Linked DNA regions of Homo sapiens: regions 1, 2 and 3 are each linked to region 4. The links are contacts of gene promoters, found by promoter capture Hi-C in blood cells and fetal thymus (Javierre and others, 2016). All regions are on one chromosome and are shown on one strand. Each heading gives the region's core, a stretch centred on a gene start or on the middle of the fragment in contact. The rest is flanking DNA. Distances are from core to core; before and after follow the strand shown.

Region 1 (2,734 bases), core at 27-2,526, 530 kb after region 4:
CCTTTATTGCCCTGATCCTTCTCTTTGCGTCATAATTTCCATCAAACAAGTATTTATTAGTGCCTCCTATGAACGGAACATTGTGCCATATAAGGAGATAAATGATACAGGGTTCCTGCCCTCAAAGAACTAACAGTCTAGAGAGGCAGATAAATATGTACTTTTTATATGGAATTAACTACAATTTAATGATGAAAGTGGCATGTGCTCTAACAGAGGGGAAAAGAAAAACAAAATACTGTGAAAGAACATTGGTGAAAGATATTAATTCTGACTCGGGAGAAGGGCATCTTGAGGAGATTAAGCAAAGACAAAGAATGGCTAGAATTTTAATAGAATAAAGGTAGGTAGTCATTCTTGTCAGAGGGATTTGAGAAAAGTCATAAAACGTGGCATGTTTGAGGAATGGTGGGAATGGAATATGTAGGGAGAACAATGCATCCTAGCTTGCCAGGGATTTCCCAGGTTTTAGCACTGAAAGTGCTGTATCCTGGAAAACTTCTTAGTCCTGTGCAAACAGGGATGATTGGTCACCCTAAATATGCATGGGACATTGGGCATATGCATCATAGGGAGTAAAAAAAATGAAGGGAAAACCAAGGATCAGTGAAGACAACCCATAGGAAATTAGGTTGAAGACAGGACATGAAGAGTACCAAATGTCAGGCTAAGAAGTCATGACTTGTTTTTACAGGCAGTTGACAATGAAACAGAGGTTTTGGATAGGGGAGTAGTATAATGAAAACATAAGATTACTCTGGCAAAAATGTCCAGGGCAGATGAAAGGGGTAAAAAACTAGTTTGGAGCCTATTTTGAAAATCCTTGCAAAAGACACACAGAAGACTTTGACAAGGAAATCTACAATGGGAATGGAGCAGAGGAGCCATAGCGAAGAGACAGTGCAGTGGCAAAAATCACTGAACCTTACTGACTAATATGGGAAATTGTAGAAAGGAGGGATGATGACAATGTTTTCCAACCTGGTTTATTGGGAAAATTGAGGTGCCATTAGCAGGAATAGGGAAGTAGCAATGATAGTTTTAAATGGAATGGTGACAAGTTTATTTTAATTTAGTTTCCAACAATCTGGGGTTGGGAAGCCAAATAAACACGTGATTCATGAGCTAAAGAAGATGTCTGACCTCTAGTTATAAGCTTTGGGAGACATGAGTATAAGAATTAGACTCAGATATAAGTTTAATTATATATGAGAGGTCAGATATGACCATCTATGGAAAGAGTAAAGTTACAGAAATTAGTAAGAAATACATGGTGGTCATTAGAGCCTGTTACAGGTACTCCAGTTCTCACCTCCTTCCAGGTACATAACAACATTGCCATGTGATTGCTTTTGCCAACTAAATGTCAGTAAAAGTGACTTATTCACATCCAGGCAAAAGCTTGAAGAAGCCATACAGAATTCACTGTGCTTCTTTTATCCTGCTTCAGCAATCATTAAAGCAGGTGTCAAGAAGAATCCCCTATTCAGTCTGGGTCCTTGGGTCACTTCAATGAGCGGAGACAAATGTCATTACTATGTAGCATGAGCAAGAATTAAACCTTTGTTGTTTCAAGCCCCTCAAAGTTTAGGGGCTGTTTGTTGCTATAGAGTAAGCTAGCTTATCTTGAATGCCACTGAAAACTTAGAAATACATACATTTAGAAGTTAGAAGAAAGAGGGAACTGACAAGTGACTCTTTCATGGGGATGGCGTAGAAGAGCCATACTGAAGAGAGAGTGCAGTAGCAAAAGTCACTGAACCTTGGTGATTTTACAGTAAAGTATACAATTTACAGTAAAAGAATAAGCAGAGGTGAGAAGTACATAAAGCGAAAATGAATCTTAGAAGACAAAAGAAGAAAAATATTCAAGAAGTGAAGGTAGTAAGTAGTGTTAGATGAAATGAATCAAAGACTGAAAAAGAACATTGGATTTGGTCATTAGTAGTACATTGGGTTACTTTCTAATAAGTTCAGTTGTGTGACAGAAACAAGCAAGGGATTGAGAAGTTAACAGGGAGTGTGTAAATGGAGTTAATTAATGAGGGTAATCATTTTTAGAAATTTGGTAAAGAGAGAAAATTCCTTAAGCAATGTCCTACCTTCCGTTGGATAAGCATGGTTTTTTCTCTCTCTTTCCATCTCTTTGCTTACTCTGCTTCCTCCATATTATCCTGGTTCTCTTCTTCTAGATCTGCCTCTTCTCTGTCCTGCCTTCTCTATGCCCCTGTGTCTCTTTGCCTCTTTTTCCCTATGATGGCATGATAACTCTTACAGCTGAACAGAGTGGGCCTAGTTCAGCCTGTGGTCCAATACAGGAGACCCCTCTATTTTACTGCTGATCAGACTGAAATTAAATGTTGTATCACTGAAGGAGTTAGCTCACTAATTCATGGAACTGCCTATCCCGTAATTGTCAGATAAATCTAGCTATCTAGACAGAAAACTTGTCTCCTACTCAGCTGAACTCTGCCTCCCTTTAACTTTTTCTCAGTCCTAATTCTACGCTCCCTATACCACACCAGAAATGTTACTCTCTTTTGTACCTTGTACTTGATATTCATGCTCTCTTTTCTCTTTGCCCATTCCTTATCCTCACCTTTCCATTGTCTCAGAGATGACCCTCAACTATAAAGAAAATATTAATTTTCTTATTAATAGCCTCAGTTTCATCAAGTGGTTGAATAAATGGGCCTTCTAAAAATATACATAATTTAGATATAGATATATAGAT
Region 2 (2,845 bases), core at 254-2,753, 610 kb after region 4:
GAACAAAAAACCAAACACCGCATATTCTCACTCATAGCTGGGAATTGAACAATGAGATCACATGGACACAGGAAGGGGAATATCACACTCTGGGGACTGTTGTGGGGTGGGGGGAGGGGGGAGGGATAGCATTGGGAGATATACCTAATGCTAGATGACGAGTTAGTGGGTGCAGCACACCAGCATGGCACATGTATACATATGTAACTAACCTGCACAATGTGCACATGTACCCTAAAACTTAAAGTATAATTTAAAAAAAATTTTAAGGAACAATACCTATTCTAGGCTCCCTAGAAATGGAAAAAAAAAATTTCAGAGAATAGAAAAGCTTTATAGCTTTCTCTTGGCACAGATTAAATACATTAAAATAAACAAATAAAAAAAGGCCATTAGGGGAAGGGTACATTTAAAAAAAAAAAAAAAGAATGGTGGACTGATGTGTTGAAGTCTTAGTTAAGGTACCAGCTCAGTCATAATATCTTGTGATGTAGTATAATTACCAAAACTGTAGCATATATATGGTGTTTTCCCGCATAGCTAAAAAATTGAGGTCCGTATAACCCCAATGATTGTCACTGCAGTGACCCACTTGTGGAATTTGGGCTTCCTCATTCCTGCAAACATAGGCTATGGTGGATTTGAGATACTGGTTTTAAGAGTGAGAGGTCCAGGACGGGCGCAGTGGCTCATGCCTGTAATCCCAGCACTTTGGGAGGCTGAGGCGGGCAGATCACCTGAGATCAGGAGTTCAAGACAAGCCTGGCCAACATGGCGAAACCCTGTCTCTACTAAAAATACAAAAATTAGCCGGGTGTGGTGGTGTCCACCTGTAATCCCAGCTACTCGGGCGGCTGAAGCAGAAGAATCGCTTGAACTCAGGAGGTGGAGATTGCAATGAGCCGAGATCGTACCACTGCACTCCAGCCTGGGCAAAAGAACAAGACTCCGTCTCAAACAAACAAACAAAGGAAGAGTGGGAGGTGCACTTCCACCTGATGACACAGTAAATGCTTCAATGAACCAGAAGCCTCTATCACTATCTTGCAACTTTGAGCTCCTGATGCCTGTGGAATAACAAGCAAAGAAAAATTCCTATATTTACAGAGGTACTCACCCTCATTTCTGTCAGCAGTTAAAGTTGCTGCTACATACAGAGATAGGGAGGATTATGTTTGAAACTCAGGGGATTCACTGAAGCATTTCTTAGTGCGTCTATTTTCGGTGATAACTGTGAACATCCAATTTCACCAACCATGGCCCAAAAAGAGATAGGCAACTGAATGTTTAAACCCTTCTGGGATGATCCCACTAGACAAGTAACCTAAATTAGCCAAGGTGTTAGCTAATTGTGAGGAAAGCATAAAAATGGTAGTTGTAGCCGGGCGTGGTGGCTCATGCCTGTAATCCCAGCACTTTGGGAGGCTGAGGCGGGCGGATCACCTGAGGTCAAGAGTTCAAGACCAGCCTGGCCAACATGGAGAAACCCTGTCTCTACTGAAAATACAAAAATTAGCCAGGCATGGTGGCACATGACCGAGACTGAGGCAGGAGAATTGCTTGAACCTGGGAGGCGGAGGTTGCGGTGAGCCGAGATCGTGCCATTGCATTCCAGCCTGGGCAACAAAAGCAAAACTCCGTCAAAAAAAAAAAAAATGGTGGTTGTAGAGGGAGATGAGTAATATAAACTATGGTGCTGCAATGAGAACACATGGACACAGGAAGGGGAACATCACACACCGGGGCCTGTAGCGGGGTGGGGGGCAAGAGGAGGGAGAGCATTAGGACAAATACCTAATGCATGTGGGGCTTAAAACCTAGATGACAGGTTGATGGGTGCAGCAAACCACCATGGCACATGTATACCTATGTAACAAACCTGCACATTCTGCACATGTATCCCAGAACTTAAAGTAAATTTTAAAAAATAAAAATAAAAAATAAATATAAATATGTAAACAATATGGTTCTGGGACACAGTATAGTAACAGGAACTTTATGTTGGCATAATAATCCTCATTCAATAAGCCTTTTTAGGAGAGTGTAACTGGCCACCAATTTGAAGGATTGCTTCTTCATCCAAGAAAAGAAATGAGGACATGTTGTTCTCATAAAATGATGGCTCCAAATTATTGTATCAAGGGGTAGACTGCGTCAGCCTGAATTTATACCCCTATTCTGTTTACACAAGAGGAGTCCTTGGCCTGCCAGACCCTTGGCTGCTTGCTCAAAAGAGATGTCTGGCTGTCACCACTATCACTTTGTCTCCAAATATCAACAACGCTCATGGCCTCTCCTGGGCTGAGATCCAAACTCCCTCCAGCAGATCCTTCTTTATGCAGCTTCAGCACAAGGTCTGGCTTTTCCACTTCTTCCAGCCTCAAATGAAGTGCCATTCCATACACTGCAGGATGTGACTTTCCGTGGATTACTGGAAATGGTGAGGTGAAACAATCTGGAAGTTCAAGAGAGTTAATCAGCTGAACCAAGGTATGGTGGTTTCACAGTGCTTATCTAGACATATCCAAGGCGACGGAGCAGCCAACTATGTTTTCTCATGAAGCTGTAGAAATCTCTGTAATGTGCTACTTTATATTTTCTATCTCATCCCTTGCCACATTGCCATTTTCTGTCCAAACTGCTCTGTAATTGCAGCCCTCAATAAACCCTTAGCACAAAGCTTTGCTTCAATCTCTGTTTTCTCAAAAAGTCAGGCAAAGTCACACTATGTCTCTTGATCATCAACACCATATTACATTTCCATAGGTCACAAGCCTGAAGATTGTTCCTAGATGCATCCCTCTCCTTTCTACTTTTATATCTACCTCCATCACCTACCCAGCAA
Region 3 (2,700 bases), core at 10-2,509, 560 kb after region 4:
GCTATAAATGTGCCGGGCACATTTACTTATTTATTTATTTGTAGAAATTATCTTATCTAATTCTTGGAACAATCCTGCAAGAGGCTGGGTGGTATTCCCATTTCACATATGAGAAAACTGACTTTCTCAAGACTGTGCAGGTTTTAGTGGCTAAACCAAAAGTTAAGCTTAGGTCCAGCTGGCACCCTTGCTTTCTTTCTGTATGTCAACAGTTTGCCTTTTAGTTATAAAGTTATAAAGAATTACACAATTATATACGGCACTAATATAACTATACAATATGGTGAGATTGACGCTGTGTCTAAATACGAAAATTCTAAAGCCAACAGACACTTCAATTGGTCATATCTTTCACTCCCTACTAAAACCATGTAAAACTGAAAAGGCTCTGTCTTTTCTTATTGAAAAATCCTGGAAACATGCATTCAAAATTTGCCTTGTCCCTTTTCACAATTGCTAGTAACTGTTTTCCGCATGAAATCCTTTTATCTATTAAGATATCCCCATCACCCTTTAAGCTCTTGTTCGAAACTATATGGAGATGATAGGATCTGCACATAGTAAGCTTCTGTCAGCCGAAGATAGATGTCAGAACAATTGAGCAAAGAGTAAGATTTCAGCAAATCCACCAATTGTTTGGTTTATTGCATGTCAATTTGGCTACTGGTGTTTTTCCATTGAATTGACTAGATGGTTTAGCTACATATACACTTTCTAATTCACCATATATAGGTGGTTCTAATATGACATATAAGGGGAAAAGAGGGTTGAAAAGTAAAGAAGTATTTCAAGCATTCAAAAGTGTATCCTTGAGTTTAAATTTAAAAATTATTATTAAAGAGGTGAATCAACTTAAATAAAGCTGGAAAACATTTTTATTGGGCAGATGTAGCTTATTTGCCCTTTTTTTGGTCAAGGGTAAAATCAATCATGTAGCTAAACCCCTTTATGAGAGTAATAATTCTATTTGACTCAATGTCAATGTAAGTACCTCTATTTGGGTTTTAACAGTCCATTCAACTAAATCAGTCTGTCCTAGGTCATATAAGTTTCTATAAGACAGAAAAGCAAAGAGAACATATATTTCCACCACTGGATACTTGAACAGTTGAACCTAACCCAGTAAAATAAATGGCATACAGCAATTAATTAGAGCTCCAGAACATGAACTATAACAGGCTACTGAGATGCTCTTCCTCTTCTTTCTTCATGTAGATGACATTGTTTTGTCTCTTTTCCCAACACTTGAGACAAGTAAATGGGTGGTCTAAAAAGAGACAATGCCTCTGAGATGACTGAACTCATCCTTGTTGGATTTGCCCAACACCCTGAAATCCAGACTGCCTTCTTCTTGGAACTACTGTTTTTCTACTAGTCACAGCGTTTGAGAACATCCTTATCGTTGCTGTAGTGAGATGAGATTCTCGACTTCATACTCCTATGGGATTTTTTTTTCCTCAGTACCTTATCCTCCCTTGAAATGTGTTACTCCATCAGCTGGGAGCTATAAGTCTTGGCTCAATGCATCAAGGACTTCCCCACCATCTCCTATAACAGCTGTTCTGTTCAGATGATCACACACCTCTTTCTGGGGATGACAGTGTCTCCTCCTTGCTGGCATGGCTTACAACAGGTTTGTTGAAATCTCTTATCTCCTCCATTACACTATTATTATGAGCAATCGGGTCTGTATACAGTTGGCCTTGGGAATCTGGACCCATGCCTTCTTAGTAGCAGTCACACTAATCATTGCAATTCCTGCTAGTTATTATGGACACAATGTCATCAACCATTTTACCTTGAGATCCAGGCCCTGCTGAAGCTCGTCTGCTCAGACACCCTTGTCAGCCTGATTCAGGGTCTGGTTATCAGTGTGTTCACACTGCCCCTGCCCTTCACATTCATCCTCATCTCCTAATTTTGCATTTTTGTTGTGCTGTGGAGGCTAGGCGTGAAGCTTTCTCCACCTGTGGATCTCATCTGACTGGAGTCACCATATTTTATGGGGCAGCCATCTGCATGTACTTGAAACCTCAGTCAAAGGGAACCCAGGAAGAGGATAAAGTTGTCTCAAAACTTTATGGAGCAGTTACTCCCATGTTAAATCCCCCAATTTACATTCAGAGAAATAAGGATATAAAAGGTGCACTTAGAAAGTTAGCCAAAGGAAATGAAAAATCCTAACAGTTCTCTTTAAACGTCTCCAAAGTGCAGGAAAAACAGTGAAAACTTGGCCTATTATTTCAATTTATATTTCTTTAAAGCAAACAACAAAATTTTAGTGAGCATTCTTTCCATGGTCCCCACTAGGCATTCATTAACAATTTACCATAAATATTATCACAAAATTTACCATAAATATTAACACTTTGTCAAGCCCCACATTAAGACCTAAAGCCATGAATGTGCCCAAAGTAGTTCACAGAGAGAATAATGGTAGTAGGTATGTGGAGGCAGGCGCAACAGCCATAGTAGCCTATCAGGGAGAGCCCTTTCTCTTGGGTATAAGCCATAAGATTTTTGTAACCAAACATCTTTGTACTTGCCACACAAAGTGGGAAAAATTCATATACAAGACAGTGGTTATACAACCACAATACAGCATTTGCCTCTCATAACACATTTTATAGGTGTGTACACCAATTTGAACCTAATGGACAAATGGCCCCTCAATTCTCCCATTTAGGTGATAACATTCCA
Region 4 (2,702 bases), core at 73-2,572:
TCTCCCAGTGGAGAAAAACAAGGCACAGAGTCACGTCTGTGGAGCTACCACTGGCGAATTGGGAGAGAAATTAATTTGGGCCCCTGGGCTTGAAGTAAAAAGGAAATTTCGTTTAGAAGCCCTTCCTGCCTAATGTGGTCCATCTCTGGTGGCTGCTTCTACCCCAGGATTTGGGGGGCAGGGCTCTTTTTACCACCACCAGAGGCCCCAAACACTGAACCCATTATGGCACGTGCTTCCATATGTATTTAAAACGTAAAAATACAAAGCCATAAAAGAAGTGTAAGAAAATCCAACACAGTACCACCCTCCATTGAAATATCAAATATCAAATTCTTTCTAAAAATAAATGTGGGTCCCCCTCCCATATCAGTGCCCTGAGCAAAAGCATTGGCAGTGGAATCTGTAAGTCGGCAGCAACTGGGGGGCACCCCACGTTTATACATACTTGACACTGGGTTCTTTTATCTCAGTTGATGATCAACCCCCTCAGTACAAAGGTTCCCAGGCAGGAGAGCATCTCCCTCTTCGCTGCGGAATTCGCAGGAGAAGGGAAGTAAGATTACTCTCAGATATGGGACTTCTTGGGGGAGGCGGCAAAATCGTTTTTCCTGCTCACATTCTTGGTCCTCTAGAACGGACCAGTGATTTAAATCAGACTTGGAGCTACTCGGGGCTGAGGTGATGCCTGCCCTAAGAGAGGGGTTAAGGGTGGGGGTGGGAGGGTCCCCAAGGGCTGAGACAGCATCTCCCCTTTAGATTCAGGGATCCTGGGGAACACACTGCTTCCCGCTTAGACTAGGCCTCTTGAGGGCTGAGATAACGCTCCGCTAAATCGTGGAGTTTTCTAGAGCCTGGGATACTGTCTCGCTCTCAGATCTGAGGCTCCCTGGGACAGGTGCGCTACCTCGCCTTCAAATTCCAGCCTTTGGGGGCAGGCCTGCTTTTATGTGCCCGATCAAGGGCTCCTGGGGTGGGGCTGGGGGACAAGGACCTTCCCTCCCTCTCAGATTTGGGGCTCACCAGGGCTGAGATGGCGTCTCCCCTCAGACTCTGGGCTCCCTGGGGTAGGGGCAGGGTCCCGCCCTCAGAATCAGCTTCCCAGGACAGGAGCTGTGTGTCTCTGCCTCCCTTCGCGTGGGGCAAGGGGCTGCGGGACCAGCGGCCTCTCTTCTGGCAGGAGGGGGGGTTCCCCGGAGGCCCTGCCCCCTTCGTGACATGCTCGAGGTGTCCGGTGACCGAAACACTCTTAGCTGGGTGCAGGGTGCGGCTCAGGGCGTGGTCACCGGGGGCTACTTAGGGCCGCCGGTGCGGGGGACGACGCAAAGGTTAACTGCGAGCTGCCGGGCACTCAGCGCGGGTCATGGCGTGGATACTGGACTGCCTTTTCGCCTCGGCCTTTGAGCCCCGCCCCCGCCGTGGTGAGTGGGGCCCACCGAGTCGGGGGGCTGGGGTGCTCGGCCGGGGGCGGCCGGCGGCTGCAGCCCCCTCTGGGCGCCCTGGGGCTTGGCTGGTCGCCCCCTTGCCTCCCTTCCTGCTGGCTTTTAGCTAATTGTTCCTGGCTCAAGGGACTGCCCCGTCGAGGCCCCGCATAAATCACCAGCTTTGCCGGGAACCGCGAGCAATCGCGCTAATGGCTCGGCGGTACGCGGGACGAGCGCGTGGGCGGAGTCGCTGGCTCAGCCGCCGGCAGGGACAGCCAGAGCCTTGGGGCCAGACGCGCAGGAGCGGCGTCCCGCAACTCAAGGACCCTCAAGGCCCAAGGATGAATGTCCCTGACAGGGCAAGCCAGGCCCCAGGGACCCTGAAGGAGGCGGGTATTCATTTTGCCTTGAAGTTCGTCCCCTTGTCTCAATCTCAAACACAGAATATCAGCAATGGACCCCCTAGAGTCGTCGAATTTAACCCCTTCATTTAAGAGATGATGACACTGAAGATGGGAAAAGCCTGCCCAAGGTTACCCAACAGGTTGGCAGCATACCTGGGTCAGCTTAGGCTCTGCCAGCTGCCCACTGCCCCAGACTGCCCAGTAGTGGACCCCTGCGGTCTTTAGTCGGGTTCTTTCCTTGGGTACTTGAGATCAATGCTTGGTTTCCCTATTTCTGTGGAATTGAGGACACAAGTGTGCAAAGATCACAGCACCGGCATATGTGGGTCACATTTCACCCCTTTTCGGGAACTGCTTCTACAAAGTACATTTTGACAACTGATTATATTTTCATCCTTAAAGTTTCAGGAGACTGATATTTTCTTTTTGACATACCCCAGGACCCCCACCCACACTGTCCTTCACTCCCCCTTGATAATAAGCCCCACCCCCTTCAGGCTGCCACCTGCCCCCACAGCCACCTGTTTTTTCATAGTCTCCACCTCCAAAATCTATATTGGTGAGAGTGCGTCATTGGGCACCAGCCATAGACCAAACCTGGGGTTGTCTCCTCTTTCCTCTGTCCCTTCACAGGCGGGGGAGGGGAAGCAGGGAAAGGAGGGGCCTCAGCAACTTAATTCAGCAGAGACCTGTTTTTAGTTCTTGCCAGCCCCAACACCCTGCTGAGAACCATCCCAGGAGTTTGACCTCCTGCTGAAAGACTACAGCTTGCTTAGGCAGTTCAAGTACAGCCTCAGGCCAGCAACAAGATCTCTGAGAAGGAAAAAGATCTGCATACACACAGAGTTTAATTTTTTCTTTTGCATATTTTTAA

What was found. Contacts are between HindIII fragments. The CHiCAGO score rates a contact against its expected background, and 5 or more counts as called.
Region 1: a fragment that was not itself captured here is called in contact with the fragment with the promoter of ARHGAP36 in region 4 in 4 of 17 cell types (M1 macrophages, M0 macrophages, endothelial precursors and 1 more); the score reaches 5.7 in M1 macrophages.
Region 2: a fragment that was not itself captured here is called in contact with the fragment with the promoter of ARHGAP36 in region 4 in 1 of 17 cell types (M2 macrophages); the score reaches 5.5 in M2 macrophages.
Region 3: a fragment that was not itself captured here is called in contact with the fragment with the promoter of ARHGAP36 in region 4 in 2 of 17 cell types (M2 macrophages and endothelial precursors); the score reaches 6.8 in M2 macrophages.

What each region holds. Positions count from the first base shown.
Region 1 is chrX:131,591,701-131,594,434 of GRCh38, forward strand. The region is part of intron 1 of LOC124905218 (a long non-coding RNA gene); the gene reads left to right. Among named protein-coding and RNA genes, the nearest start is that of OR13H1, 49 kb to the left of the region's middle. The HindIII fragment of the contact is 245 bases long and covers 1,155-1,399 here.
Region 2 is chrX:131,669,722-131,672,566 of GRCh38, forward strand. No RefSeq gene overlaps it. Among named protein-coding and RNA genes, the nearest start is that of OR13H1, 130 kb to the left of the region's middle. The HindIII fragment of the contact is 2,349 bases long and covers 330-2,678 here.
Region 3 is chrX:131,617,755-131,620,454 of GRCh38, forward strand. It overlaps the pseudogene OR2AF1P. Among named protein-coding and RNA genes, the nearest start is that of OR13H1, 75 kb to the left of the region's middle. The HindIII fragment of the contact is 1,392 bases long and covers 564-1,955 here.
Region 4 is chrX:131,057,024-131,059,725 of GRCh38, forward strand. ARHGAP36 (Rho GTPase activating protein 36) reads left to right here and starts at 1,323. Exons shown (of 12, transcript NM_144967.4): 1 at 1,323-1,421. LINC01201 (long intergenic non-protein coding RNA 1201) reads right to left here and starts at 1,123. Exons shown (of 3, transcript NR_126350.1): 1 at 1,024-1,123. RefSeq lists enhancers at 675-1,328, 1,329-1,981. The HindIII fragment of the contact is 6,523 bases long and covers 1-2,702 here.